2 separate regions of the Homo sapiens genome follow, and region 2 is linked to region 1. Evidence: promoter capture Hi-C in 16 types of primary human blood cells and fetal thymus (Javierre and others, 2016). All regions are on one chromosome and are shown on one strand. Each heading gives the region's core, a stretch centred on a gene start or on the middle of the fragment in contact. The rest is flanking DNA. Distances are from core to core; before and after follow the strand shown.

The links. The method cuts DNA at HindIII sites, captures the fragments that hold promoters and counts their contacts. A CHiCAGO score of 5 or more calls a contact.
Region 2: a fragment that was not itself captured here is called in contact with the fragment with the promoter of PAGE4 in region 1 in 3 of 17 cell types (M2 macrophages, M0 macrophages and monocytes); the score reaches 6.6 in M2 macrophages.

Annotation. Positions count from the first base shown.
Region 1 is chrX:49,823,173-49,830,744 of GRCh38, forward strand. PAGE4 (PAGE family member 4) reads left to right here and starts at 6,131. Exons shown (of 5, transcript NM_007003.4): 1 at 6,131-6,179; 2 at 7,227-7,334. The coding sequence starts at 7,257. RefSeq lists an enhancer at 6,035-6,535. The HindIII fragment of the contact is 15,040 bases long and covers 5,799-7,572 here.
Region 2 is chrX:49,272,045-49,279,616 of GRCh38, forward strand. All of the region lies in intron 1 of PPP1R3F (protein phosphatase 1 regulatory subunit 3F), which reads left to right. Among named protein-coding and RNA genes, the nearest start is that of PPP1R3F, 6.0 kb to the left of the region's middle. RefSeq lists an enhancer at 5,164-5,663. The HindIII fragment of the contact is 1,188 bases long and covers 2,582-3,769 here.

The DNA of each region.
Region 1 (7,572 bases), core at 4,881-7,380:
TGTTAATATATAGAAATCCAATCGATTTTTGTGTGATGACCTTGTATATTGCTGCCTTGCTTAAGTTACTTGTTGGTTCTAGGAAGGTTTTTTTTGTAGATTTCTTGGGATTTTCTATGTAGACAATTATGTTGTCTGCAAATAGGGTAATTTTACTTCTTCCTTTCCAATCTGAATGCCTTATATGTCTTTTTTCTTGCCTTGTTATGCTGGCTAAGACTCCCAGCATGATGTTGAACAGATGTAGTTAGAATAGAAATCTTTGTCTTGTTTCTGATCTTTGGAGGAAAGCATTCAGTCTTTCACCATCAAATACAATGTTAGCTGTCGGTGTTTTGCAGATCTCTTTACAAATTGAGAAAATTTCCTTCTAGTTCTACTTCACCAAGAGTTTTTATCATGAATGGATGCTGTATTTTGTCAAATACTTCTTCTGCATCAATTGATATTATCATATGATTTTTCTTCTTTAGACTGTTAATATCAAATATTAAATTGATTGATTATTGAATATTGAATTCGCATTGCATTCCTGGAATAAACTTCCTATGGTTGTGCTGTATTATTCTTATTGCTAGATTCAATTTGCTAATATTTTGTTGCGGATTCTTACATTTATGTTAGTGACAATCCTAAGAACCCCAAATATTTATGCATCTAATAACAGAGTCACAAAATACATGATGAGAAATACACGAATCTACGATTACGTCTGAGATTACAATATTTCTTTCTCAATAATTGATAGAACATGTTGGCAGAAAATCAGCAAGGATACAATAGACAATAATCTGAAAGACACAAACCACCAAGCCTCACTCAGGAAGAAATAGATAAGCTGAATAACTCTGTATCTGAATAACCCTTTAAAGAAATTGAAATTGTAGCTTAAAAATGTTTCCAAGAAGAAAACTCCAAGCCTAGATGGCATCACTGAAGTATTCTACCAAATATTTAAGGAAGAAGTAATACCAATTCTATGCAAAATCTTCCAAAATATTGAGGAGGAAAGAATGCTTCCCTACTCATTCTATGAGGCCAGAATTTCTTAATTCCAAAATTGGACAAAGATATTAATAGAAAAGGAAAATATAAATCAACATCCATCATAAATATACATGCAAAAATTCTAAACAATATTTTAACAAATTAAATCCAGCAATGCATTAAAAGAATAATACATCATGACTGAATGGAATTTATTTCAGGAATGCAGGCTGGTTTAATACTTGAAAATGAATCAATAAAATTCACCTTATTAACAGCTAAAAAAGAAAAAAAATATGATTATTTTAATAGATGCAGAATGTTGAAAACTTTTGCCCTATGATCAGGAACAAGACAGAGATTTCCACTTTCCCCACTTGTGTTCAACATTGTAGTGGAGGTTCTAGGTAGTGTAGTCATGGAACGAAAGTAAGTAAAATGCATGCAGATTAGGAATAAAGTAAAATCGTCTATTCACAAATAACACAATTGTTTACGTAGAAAACATGATAGAATCTAATTAAACCAATGAAAATCTACTAAAACCAACAAGTGAGTTTAGCAAAATTGCAGGATACAAGCTCAATATAAAGAATAAGTTGTATTTCTGTCTACTAGCAACAAACAATAAAATGGAAATAAAAACAATACCATTTACAATATCATAAAACATGAAAAACATAAGGGATAAACCTGACAAAATATATGAAAAATCTATACATTGAAAACTACAAAATATTTCTGAGAGAAACTAAGACCTGCATAATTGAAAAAACACAAAAAAAGAAAAAAAAAGACCTACATAAATGAAGAGATATATCTTGTTCACGGGTCTGAAGACTCAATATTGTTAAGATGTCAATTCTCCCCAAATTGATCTATAAATTTGGTGCATTCTCAATCAAAATTACTGAAGGTTTTTTGGGGGGTAGAAATTGACAAGCTGATTCCATAATTCATATGGAAATGCAAAAGACCAAGATTAGTCAAAGTAGGATTTCAAGAGTTACTACAAAACTATGTCACAGTAGTGTGACATTGGCATAAAGATAAACAAATAGATTAGCACAGCACAGAGAGTCCAAAAATAAACTCACACCTATACAAACAACTGATTTTTGGCAAAGGTATACAGGTAGAGACATAACAACCAGCAAAGGCCAGCATGACCAACGTACCCTCACTAATTACCTGTGAAGGGATACATGCATAAGAGGAGGCTTGCCCAAGAGAAAGAAGTCCAAAGCCAGATGAGCTTTCTAGCACAAGTGAGAGGCCTGCACACCATCAGTGAAGACTGAAGTGACAAGCACAACTATGAAATGGGGCTCAGTTGGCACAGAAAGGTGAACCTGGTGGTTTCTATATAAGGAGACTGGGAAACAAGGGCTTCTCCTTCCGATGGTGGAGCTGTCAAGGACAGAATCTTCCTTCCTCTCCAGTTGCTTCAGGTGAACTACTCGGAAATGCTGACGCTAAGTAATAGCTATCTGAATAGATATGAGCATGTGTGCAGCAACTGAATGGGCATGAGTAGTATTTGAAGGAGTTCACAGGTAGTTGGAGTAACAGTTTAAAATAACATACTTTGTCAATCCATGTCAAGATTTCCAGGAACTCTCCTTTGCAATCATGAAAATTGCCTTTATGTTTACCAGTCAGTGTTTAGAAAAATCATCTCACAAAATATTTATATTCATAATATTTATATTCATGCCCTTATTGTGGCATACAGTAGGTCAAAGGACACCAGAGAAAAGATCCTCCTCTGACCCACAGCCTCGGTCTCCAGCTCCAGTGGCCTCTGCAGTTTGCAAGCATGCTTCCAAGACTTAGCACATGATGTTTCTTCTGCCAGTCCTGCATTCTGCACATGTGGGCACCTACACCATATCACCTCTCATGGATGGTGCTCATGGGGTTACTAAGCTTCTCCTTGAGCTGAGGGATTCAAAGGAACTACTGGATCCATAGGGTAGCACAAGGTGAAGAAGCATACATGTTTATGTTTATGATTCAGGCTTAAACCAGAATCGGAAAGATACAGATTTAATTCCAGGCATAACTTGCCAGAGGGTGTGACATTAGACAAGTTGTACATACTCTCAAGCCCCTATTTCTTCATGTAGGAATTTTTTTCATGAAGAAATGTTTAAGGAAGTGGACTGAAAATGGTTCATGAGGATGTTTGCTGCAGCATGAATGATCATCTAAAATGATAAATATATGGAAACACATGCACTAAAATGACAAATAGAAGATAGGTTTTTAATGAATGCTGGAACTCCAGAGTTATTTCTTGATTCTCCTCTTTCTGATTTTGTGGATTGTTTATGAGCATGAATTACTTGAATAACAATGTTCAAACGTATTATTTATCAAAAGTGCAAATTCAAATAGTAGTGTGGTGTTTCCTCCCATCAAATAGCAGAAAACAGTAGAATTAGTCAATTTTTAGTGATTGGATTATTTGTAAGGAGCAGATATCACCTGTGACATAAAATGAATACAATGAAAGTGACATCTATAATCATCACAATGATACAAACAAGGGCTTGGGATCACCTACATCGTTGATCAGAGTGCTTGCTTTGCACTAATGTTGCCTGAGGATGAGGTTCTCTGGGAAGGCTCATGGTGCTGGGCAAATCGGGATTTCTTTTTCAGTTCAGATCTAAGCTCTCACACAGAAAGGACCTTACCTGTCCTCTCACTCCTTCACAGCATCCTAGAGAAACTTGATCCTATGCAGAGAACACAGCAGCTGCCAACCGACAGGCACCAAGGTCAGGGAGGCAGCAGGCTGCAGATAGCCTTTCCAAGTGATAATAGGAAACACCTGAGAGCTAATGAAAGCACTTTACCTGAGGAGAAACAGGAGGCTGAGACTAGAGCCCACAGTTTATACTGATTGCAGAGTGTGAGATCTCAGTCTCTCAATAAATCTTTATTTAATCTACATAAAGATCTGAGTAGTAGGAGCAGCTCCTGCTTAGATATAAAAAGTGGTTATCCCTGATTGGTGATATCAAGGAAGAATTATATATTCTTCACACTTGGCTCTGTATTGACTCTACATCTTATCTGTAGGAGAGAGGGAGAGAAGGAGAGGGAGATCTGGCAATTCTACTTCTGCCATGGGGGATCTTTCTAACTCTCAAAGAATGTGCGCTTCTTTAAGGGTAACCTGCAGAGTCTGAGAACGGTCCAGGTCCAGGCATGCACGGACAGAAAGGATATTTTTCCCCCAGGGGTTTAGCGGGGGCAGGAGGGGTTGGACAGGGATGTGCAGGGCAAGCTCCTTTCTGTCTTGCAGGCACCCATCTAACTTTTGCCCAAAGCAGTAACAGTGGGCTTCTGTCCCCCTACCCCCAACCCCCCACACCTTCTCTGACAGCAGAGGATCAGACCACCTAGGTGATGGTGAAGCTCTTTGACGTGCACCAGGTGCAGGAGACCTATGACCCCTAGCACTGCCTTTTATCTGCTGGGTTCCCCTTGGAGAACCATATATCTTTGGAGCCCCAGAACATGCTGGTTGCACAAGAACAAAGCACACTTACTGTCTGAGAGGAAGGCTGGTGGTGTGGTAGCACTATTGAACCTCTCTTTTCTTTTGAGATCATATTGTACATACACAGTGCTACATAACTGGATGTTTCAAGTTAATAACTTAAAATGAACAGCACCACTATTACAGGAAATATTATTCAGCACTGGTTTTGGTAGTCACCCATATTTCATTTTCAAGTGTGCCATAATTTACTTATATAGCAAGTCCATGACCATGCTATTATAAATTAAGCTGTTTTGGAAGTCCCATGTATCCAAATTTTTGTTCACATGGTTAAAGAAAAAAAACATTCAGTGGTAGTTGTTAAAGCACAGTAAGGAAAACCTTATTTAGGACTGTGGTGATGGGTATAGGGACCATTGCAATGGGATCTTGCAGTGGGGGAGAGAGATTGGGCTCAATACTGAATACAGCGCAGGCCAGTGGGAATGTATAGCGAAGGAGCAGTATGGCGGTCCGTGGGTGGAAAATTACTAAAAGGAAACATCAGGGGTAAGGGGGATTCTGGCTAAACCCACCTAGCAGGATTCTTGCTGAAGACAGGCCAAGGGGAATCAGACATCACCTGGGGGATGGTGGAAGATGAAGAACCCCATGCGATAGCAAGTATGATCAGATATTGAGGATGGAGGGTTCATGCCACATTGACTTAGCAGGGCTCTTTGCTAAAACTGGGTTTTACAAGGAAATGCACAGATGGGCCTAGGAGGAGAAGTTTCAGAAGCCTGACTTAAAAGTTTGGCCAAGCAAGGAATATTTGTCAACATTCAAGACAGTTTCCTTAACATTAAAGTCCTAGAAGTAGAAATGCTGGGTCACAGGATTTTTTATTTTTTGAGACAGGGTCTTGCTCTGTTGCCCAAGCTGGAGTGCAGTGGTGTGATCTTGGCTCACTGCAACCTCAACCTCCTGGGCTCAAGCTATCCTCCCACCTCAGCCTCTCAAGTAGCTGGGACTACAGGTGTGCACCACCATGCCCAGCTAATTTTTGTATTTTTTGTAAAGACAGGGTCTTGCCATGTTGCCCAGGATGGTCTCGAACTCCTGGGCTCAAGAAATCCACCCACCTCAGCATCCCAAAGTTCTAGGATTACAGGCATGAGCTGCCGCACCTGGCCTGGATTTTTGTGCAAATGTTTAGGCTTATTTATGTATGTGGGTTTATCATCCTTCTCCTTTACATTTTTTTCTGGATTCCTATCATGCTTAAAATGGCTTTGCACTCTCTGAGAACCTAAGCTTTCACGCATCTCTGGGAAGACTGAATACCCTCTTAAGGGCCACTGAGGTAGCAGCACTGAGAAAAAATTAAAGGGTAAATTTGCAGGTGAAATGCAGAGCTGGGAACATTCCTAGATCCAGAAGGACAGAACATTTTGCAGGAGGGGCCAGAAGCCAGAAACAAGCCCTTCTCAGCACCGAGCAGGCCCTTCCTCCAGGTGGCACAGAGCCTCTAGGAGGCGGGAGAGGGCTGGAAAGACAACCCACGTGACACACCCCCGAGGTTTGGGATTGGCTGGTGGGGTTGACACTGCTGAGGTCTAAACAAGGAGGCAGAAGTAGGTAGGTGCCACTTCTCTTCCCTTCATTCTTCGCCAGGCTCTCTGCTGACTCAAGTGTAAGTGAGAACAGGTGTGAGTGAGTGGGCCGGCGGGCTTCTGGTGGGTCGGGCACTGTGGTCCCTGGCCTCAGAGAAGGAAGGGCCTCGAGGTCATCATCCTTCTCCTAGCAGGCAGCTATGCGGCGGGGCAGGGACAGGGGAGGAAGGAGGGCCATGAAGGGGAGGAGGGTCAGCCAAGATGCTGTGAGTTTTGGAGCGGGACACTATCTGAGTCCTGGAGGCATATGAAACTGTCCATAAAGGACGGATGCTGGGGTCCTCAGTGGGGGCCAGGGAAAGGGTGGGACAGCCCGCGCTTGACAGCGCCTGCCTCAGTGCTCGTGTTCACTGGGGGTCTTCCCATCAGCCCCTTCACCCACGAGGTGAACTGCCGCGGAGCTGTGAGGGTGCCGTTTGCATTCCAATTGTCGGGACTCTTTCACCTGAGACTGAGACTCAGTGGGTGGGTCCACCGATCGTTCCTCCATGGGAGTTTAAGTGTGAAGAGGAGCTGGTGGGCTTCAGGAGGGTCGGGCAGCACAGTCCGTGGCCTCGGAGGAGGAAGGGCCTCACAGGTGGTGGCGCCGCCATGACCTTGTGGTTGTGGCAGGGCTGGGGCGAGGGAGGAAGTTGGGCCACGGAGGGGAGAGGGATCAGATGGAGCAAAACTTGGGGGGTACTTTTTGAGGTATCTTTGAGTCCCAGAGGCACCTGAAACTGCCGAAAGAGGACAGGTTTCGGAGTTCTCAGTGGGGACCTGGGGAGGAGGGGACCTGGGGTGGCTGTATATTAAAAAATCTCTTCATAATGGAGTTTAGTTATGAAATTAAGTCTCTTTAGGAAAGACCCCATGTTTTGATCTAGGACTTGAAGATCACTTCTCTGCCGAGCTGGCTGTGGAAGAAACAAAGCAGTTTGCAGATAGATTTATTTGATGTGATTGGAAACCAGGCGTAGTTATTATTAACTCAGGACCTATTATGGAAATCTCACAAAATTAAAAAAAATTACAATCAGCAGATGGCCATGGAAAGAGTCAAGTATAATTACTCCTTTTTATTGCAGTCTTCAGTTCACGATCTTCTAGTTGCAGCGATGAGTGCACGAGTGAGATCAAGATCCAGAGGAAGAGGAGATGGTCAGGAGGCTCCCGATGTGGTTGCATTCGTGGCTGTGAGTACATTTCAGTATCTTATTTCCATTGGCAGAAATGTATTTTTCTGAAAGAAAATCTAAAACATTGTTAACCAATATAGATCTGTTATATAAAGGACTTCCCTGCTGAAAATAGTTGCAAACTAAATCACATTAATGAGACATTGAGCAAGGAGACTTATTTTCTGATATTGTCTGCATATGTATGTTTTTAAGAGTCTGGAAATAGTCTTATGACTTTCCTATCATGCTTATT
Region 2 (7,572 bases), core at 1,926-4,425, 550 kb before region 1:
TGGGAATGGAAATGGGAAAATGCTTTTTGGACCTTGTATGTATACGCTTGGTCAGAAGCCCCTGGCTGCAGTAAGACATTTGTGGGTTCTGCTGGTTCTGGTAAGGCCTTAGGCTGTGAGTGGTTCAGAAAGGTCTAGCTCCGGTCTGGTGGGCAGATGTGCCTGGGTAACTGAGCAGGCAGGCAGGTACCCACTCACCCACCTGTGAGCCCCACCATAATCTGAGACTTCATTTAAAGGGGGCAGGCAGCATGGTTTTTCTTACAGCATTAAGAGTGTGGATTCTGGCATAGATTGCCTGGGTTCAAATCCTGGCGCTGCCACTTACTGGCCTTGTGACCTTGGCCAACGCATTTAACTACACCATGCCTCAGGACCCTCACCTGTAAAACAGAATTATAGCATCTACTTTACGGGATAAGAGTAAAGGTGCTCAGAACCGAGTCTGGCTCAAAGTAGTATCATACAGGTGTTAGCTAGTGTCAGTATTTAGGGAGCCACACCTACAGTTTCCTGGATTCCTCTCCTAAATTCGGCTCCGCCCATCAGCTGTGTGGCCTTGCCTCCGTTTCCTTCTCTGCTAAGGGAAATGACAGTCACTTTGCATGGTTGGATTGAATGCAGCAAACATGGGCAAGGTAACTGAAGCATGGTGGTAACTGCAAAAGATAACTGGCCAGCATTTACTGATTTCTGTGCTATGAACATCAGATCCATTCTCTCCGTGAGGCCTGCTGTGCATGCTGTGTTGTGTAGGTGCTATGATTATCCCCATTTAGTAGAGGGGAGACAGGTAGCTCAGAGAGATGAGCCAGCTTGCTCAAAGCCTCTCAGCTAGTGAGTGACAGGGCCAGGGAAGAAATGCTAGGGACATTTATTTTTTTCTATTTTTTTTTTTTAAACTGGTCCTCTAGAAAGCGTGGCATGATTCAGGGCAAATTCTGGATTTCACTCTTGGTGTTCCCAGCATGTCGTGCTTTCCTTTTACCTTTTTTTTTTTTTTTGCTTTATCGAGGTATACCTACATAAAGTGTACTGATATTCTGTGTATAGCCCAGTGGATTTGTACATATGTATGCACTTGTGTAGCCACCACCCAGATGAAGATACTGAGCAGGTCCAGTACCCCAGAGCTACCTTCATTTCTATCACTTTCCCAAGCTGTCATCCCCGCCGGCTGTCATGGGAACCCTGTCTGTAAGATGCGACAGTTTGGGTAAAGGAGTTTGGTCATTTTAAAGAGTGTGAAAGGCAGAGAACAGAGAAATCAAAACCTTGCAGGGCCAAGGTGGGTGGAGAGGGTGTTTTTCTTTTAACATACATGGGCGGTTTTAAGGAGAAATTGAAGCAGCCTGTTCAGACAATTGTTTTGGTATCTGGCCCCAGGTCTGTGGTTCCTAACATGACTTGTGATATTATTTTAAGTGGGCAGATGGCTTTTTGATAGCTTCTTTATCTTTCGATCTCAGCTCTTGCAAAGGGGAGGTTGGTGCTCATTGCAAGATCAGCGATAAGGGTTTCTTTGTAGGTCGGTGGCTTTCTTGGTGAGTACATTTCAACATATTATTGTTTTAGAACCTGTGTGCTGCCAGTGACTTGCAGCACTGTTGAAGACTAGCCACCCTTTGTGACCTAGCCCTCTTGGGAAATGGCGGAGGATCTCAGGGTATATCCCTTACCTGTGGGAGCCCTATCAGAGGGCTTCCTGTTGAGGAAATGTTGGCTGTAGGCCCTCTGTGCACTGAGCACAGCCACATCAGGTGAGGGCATGGGAGAAGTCCGTGGTAGCCATCAGGATAGAGTTCAGAAACCCAAATGGCTGCTTTCCCTGGGTTGCTGGACCAGGCATTTGGTAACTCTAAAGCTTAGAGATGATTCATCGACAAGCATTTATTGACTGCCTACTGTGTGCTGGGCACAGTGCTAGGTTCCAGCAGGGAAAGAGATGCAGAGTGGTCCTAAGATGTCACAGGGCTTGTGGGATGGAGTACAGAGGATTTGTTGTATGAGACCTGGCTGAGCCCCTGCTCTTCGCCAGGCACTTCACTGAGTACTATATTTTCATGCAAGGTCTGGTTTAATTCCGACAACATTCCCTGTGAAGTAGAGGGTTTTAAATTTCTCTTTCCTGGATGAGCAAACTGAGGCTCCCAGAGTCCAAAGTCCTAGGGCTGGTGTGGGGAAAAGCCCTCCTGATCTTCCTTGGCACTTGACACTACCCTTTGGAAGTGTCCTATTCTTCTTAAAAGTAAAGACCAAGAGAGCCTCACCATGGTCTTCAAGCACCCTCCCATCCCATTCCCCAATCTGGCCTCCACTGGCTCATAGTCTTAACACCAGTGGTCTTTCTGAGCTCCTGTCACCATGGTCTTTCTGTTACTCCAAAGGGCCTCGCTCCTTTCTGCTGCAGGGCCTTTGCCCCTGCTGTTTCCTTCACCAGGAACATTTATCCCGTACCCCTTGCAGTCTCCTCCAGTGTTGATCCCTCAGTTCTAAGAGGACTTCCCCAGGGGAGCCTGTCCACCCCAGTGTCCTCGGGCCCCTGGCTTTTTCATAGCACTCATCAGCCCAGCACGTGCTAAGCTTTGTTAGAGAATGTCCCATGGCAGAGCAGATGAACATCGCCACCAGTCGAGGGGTCATCGGCCACCCTGCCTAGCAGTTCTACTATATTTTTTTGATCCACTCGTTTCTCCTCTGAAGTGACTCTTTCAAATGTTCTTTACCTTCAGACTTTCTCTCCTGCTTCAAAAAACAAAACAGAAGCCATAAGAATGGAACTCCCTATAACTTGTGGCCCCCAAGTCTGCACGCTGATTTCCCTCCCCTGTGTTACAGATGACGAGGAGTCCCTTCTTGCTCAGGCCACTTCTCCCTCCTGTGCTCTGGGTCCCAGTTTCTGCTACTTGCTCTAGAATCTGACATCATCAGTCACCTTTTCTCTCCTGGCAGGTTTTCTGCTGCCCTCCTTGCTTGATCCTCTATTCACCTTTGCCTGTGCCAGCATCCCTTCTGTCTCCGCTGACCCCACGTTCTCTCCCTCCTGCTTCTGGCCAGCACCTCATCACCCTCCCCTTCACTGCTGACCCCTGCAGAGTTGCCTGTACTTGCCTTCTGCACTTGCTCACCCCCGTAAGTGTTAGCCCCCGGCATCTGCCAGATTCTGCAGGTGGTTTTTTAGTTTTCCTCTTGAAGTGGTTGACCACTCCTACTTAAAACACTTTGTCTTCCCTTGCCTTGAGACCACACTCTGCTGGTTTTCCTCTTAACTCTCTGGCCCTTCTCTTTCTCCTGGCTCTTCCCTTAGCTTCATGTATCCAAACTCGGCATCTCCACTTGACTGATGGCCCAAATAATTCCTCAAACTCACCTTGTCGGGGACTGCATTCATCACCTCTCCCACAGTGTTCCCAAGCAGCCTCTCACTCCCCTACCTCCCCACTTGCTCGTTTTGCTTTTCAGCATCCTTAAGTAAGCCCTGCCTGACCCTGTAGATTGGGCCAGGGACCCTTATTCTAGGGCATTCTTTCCTTTTCTAAAGGCACTGATCGCAGTTTGTAGTTATATCTTTATTAGGGGGTTGCTGGATGACTCTCTGCCCCGCTAGACTGTAAGCTCCGTGAGGGGTAGGGACATGGTCTGCTTTCATTCACCACTGTATTCCTGCAGGCCTGCCACAGTGCCTGGCACTTAGCAGGTGCTCAATAAATGTTTGTTGAAATAATGAGTTTGAGTATTTTTTTAATGTCTTCCTCCATACTGAATTGTAAGCTTCCTAGTTGGGTTTGCTCACCATGGTGTCTCCAGGATCCGTCACTGGGGCTGATGCACAGGAAGGCCCACTGTCTTTCAGTGCACCTATAACTGAAGGGATGGGGATCCAACCTGCTATCTGAGTTGGCAGCCTCAGGGGAAACCAGAATAACTGGAGTTGAACGGGACAAGTCAGGGGCATCTTAGTTTTCTGTAGAGTGAGGAATTAATGTGAACGTGATCCTCTTTTATGCCACAGAAAACTTGGTAGGGCATTATGGTTAAGGACATGGGCCTGAGGCCACGTGCTAAGAAAGTGGCAGAGCTGGGATCTGAGCCTGTGTGGTCCTGCTCTAGTGCTCCAGCTCTTAGCTACTGTACCAGGCTGGGTGATGCATTTTACCAGCAGGGCAACACTGGGCAAGTTGCTTTCCTTTCAGAGCTTCAGTTTCCCTCAATGGAAATTTGGAGGGGGTTACTGTTAAGTGCTTTATAGGTACTTTTCAAATATTTCTTTGATCTGCTGAACAACTCACTGATGTAGGTATTATTATCCCCTCCTTAGAGATGAGGTAACTGAGGCACAGAGAGGTTAAGTAACTTGCCCCAGGTCACACAGCTGATAGGTGGCAGAGCTGGAATTGTTCAAAATTGCATATCCTAACCCTTTATTGAGTTGTGAAATCAATTTACTGGGTTTCAACAAGCATTAAAAAGAAAAAGGAAATAGCATAAGAAATGCCAGTGTATCACCACATGCAGTAAAGGTAAGTATTGTTTCACTCGAAGAACAACCATTTTTCAGTTATTTATATGTCTGTTTACACGTGTGGGTGTGCTGGGTTATGATGTAGAATGGATTTCTTACTATGGGTCGTGGCCAAAGAATGAAGTCATGGCTGTTGAAGAAGCTCATGGCACGAGAAACTGCTCTCCCTCTACCCCACTGGATCACCCGCAAGTCCCAGAGTTGAGGCTGACACACTTGTTGGGGAAGGCAAAGCAGTGCCCCACATAACTTGGTGGCTTTCACAGCCACCTTCAAACCCTGTTCTTTTCAGAAAGCAGATGGCTCAGGGTAACTGCAATTCTGAGTATCGTGGGGCAGGTTTCTGAAGCCACTCATCCCCCCGGAAAGTCAGCGTTATCTTCAGGTTGACTACATGGGAGCCGGGGTCTGCTGAGTTTCCCTTTGGGTTTCAGTGCCTGACCCACTTTGGGCTGGCAAAATTCTTTGAAAACATGAATGCTGGGGGTGCTCCAGAGGACTCGGGTGGTGGTGGCAATGGCAGTCTGTGACTGCTCTGAAAGTCTGCTTTGCTTTTCTCCACAGGGCTTGTCAGCCCTCACCCGCTCGCTTACTCTGTGACTGGCGAATCACCTTTCTTGGCTTTCTTGGCTGGCCTAGGCCGGGGCCAACACCACCTCTTTCCAAATCCTCACCCTCTGGTCTCCTCGGGGCCTATCAGCTTGGCAGCCATTGTGTTTCCTGATGGCCGGAGGAATTTGCACGCCCAGGAGACTGGCGTGCAGGCCTGAGATGGCCCCTTTTAGTCGACACCAGCTTGACTAGTGCTCACTAGCACCCAAATGATGCATGTCCAAGATTTTCCAGATCTGTGTGCCCTGGCCCCTATGGCTCACTGCCCTTGAGGGGATGCCACGTGGTACTTGTGGGGCTGGTGCCAAAAGAACAGGTTTCCTTCTTGAAAACGAGCAGGCATACTGCAGGTACAGTTTTGTTCTTAATCTTCTCCCTCCCCATTTTTCTAAGAACCCCTCTTCTCTGTTACCGATCAGTGAGTCAGTATACATTTGTACTTGATTTCTCTTACTATCCTCATGTTGATTGAAGTCATAGCTGCCCTTGAGTTTTTACTGTGAAAGACGGTTCAAAGATAACTTGTTTCTTTTTAAGCCCACAATTTCAAACTCTCTTCAAAGTGGAGCCCTCCTGGAGTGTTTGTTACCAGCGTGGTTGTGTAGTCAGTGAGTGTAGAGATGCAGTTCCTTGAGTTTTAGTTTTTGCATTTGTAAAAAGGAAGGGTGTTGTTTTGAAGGATAGATGTGAAGGTTTTCAAATGCCTTGGTGTGTCAATGAGAGGGGCCCATGGTGGAGGAGGTGAACAATACATGCTTGTGCTTTCTGCTTTCATATCTGACTTTGGAGAACGACTTGTTTGCTTCTGTCGATGTTGTGGATCTTGGGATTGGCTCAATGGCGTGACCTGCTTTTTGGATGTTCTCGCCCTCCTCAGCCATGGAAAGGGTGCTCTGGGGGCTGAAGGATTGATTGTGTATTTGTTTTTCTTTCTCCTTCCTCCAACTGAATTGTGGAGTCCTTTACCTGCTGGCTAGCTGATTCCTGAGTGTTCTCCTTTTTCTGTCTCACATCTATGACTGCAGTGGCTTTTAGAAGCCTGTTTGTAATATATGTCCGGACTAGGCCAGATGGAGGAGAAGGCTTGCCTGCTACTGCGCACAGGTGGGAGGGCTGGCTTTCTGTCTGTCTGTGGGCCTTCTTGAAGAGGCTTGGTTTAGAAGATCCTAGGAGGAGGATGTTTTCTGTCATGAAGGACTATGGTAACAAAAAGAAGTAAGTTAGTGCAGCCTGGCAGAAATTGTGTTGAAACAAAAGTCCAAAGACCTGGATTTTAGGACCACGGAGGGGATTGGTGTGAGACCAAGCTGGTTTGCTCTGAATCTCTCTTTCTCATCTGTGATGTGTGGGAGGTGGCAGCTGGGCTCCCAGAGTCACCCACCCTAGGCCCTGTAGTATTCTGATTCAAGTACCTCTGGTGGGATTTGTGAGTCCTAGACAGTAGAGAAAGACAGACGGTCCCTTCTAGACTCTAGATCCGTATATATGGTTCAAATGTTCTCCCCGAGGGTGTTTATAGAAAGCAGTTCTTGCAGCCATTCTGTGTCTAGTGGCCTCCTAGCCACGCATGTCCCAGGCCCATGGAGGTAGGGAAATGGGGAATGAATATGTGGGCAAAGGCAGGTCCAAAGAAAAGCCTGCATGAAGGAGGAGGGAGGGATCTTGTCTAGTATTGATGCCTCCCTCTATCTACTTCTAGAAAGGATGGAGATGGGTTGGGTAAGACCCCAGTCTCCCTCATCCAAGAAGCAGCAGCTGACTGGGTAAGAGCCAAAAGGCCTGGGTTGTGATGTGAAGTGTATGACCTTGAGCCATTTACTCAGCCTCTGTTTTATCCTCTGTAAAATGGAGACAATAGTACTGCCTGCTTCAGAGGATTACAAGTACCTGTCTCATAGGGTGATTGTGAGGATTGAATTAACACATGTTGCCCAGGCACCGTGGCTCATGCCTGTAGTACTAGGACTTCGGGAGGCTGAGATGGGAGGATCGCTTGAGTCCAGGAGTTCACGACCAGCCTGGTCAACGTAGGAAGACCCCATCTCTAAAAACAAAATACAAAAAAACAAAAACAAAAACCAAAAAACCCCAAAAACTTCTTTAAAAAAATGTGAAGCACTTAGAACAGTGTGTAATGCCATAGTAGGTACTATGTATGGGTCAGATGGTGATACTCGTTTCTGTGAAGGTAATTGGTTATGGGTTTTCAAAAAGTTTCAACCAGGCCGGGCACGGTGGCTCATGCCTGTAACCCCAGCACATTGGGAGGCCGAGGAGGGTGGATCACCTGAGGTCAGGAGTTTGAGACCAGCCTGGCCAACATGGCGAAACCCCGTCTCTATTAAAAATACAAAAATTAGCTGGCTGTGATGGTGGGTACCTGTAATCCCTGATACTTGAGAGGCTGAGGCAGGAGAATCACTTGAACCTGGGAGGCA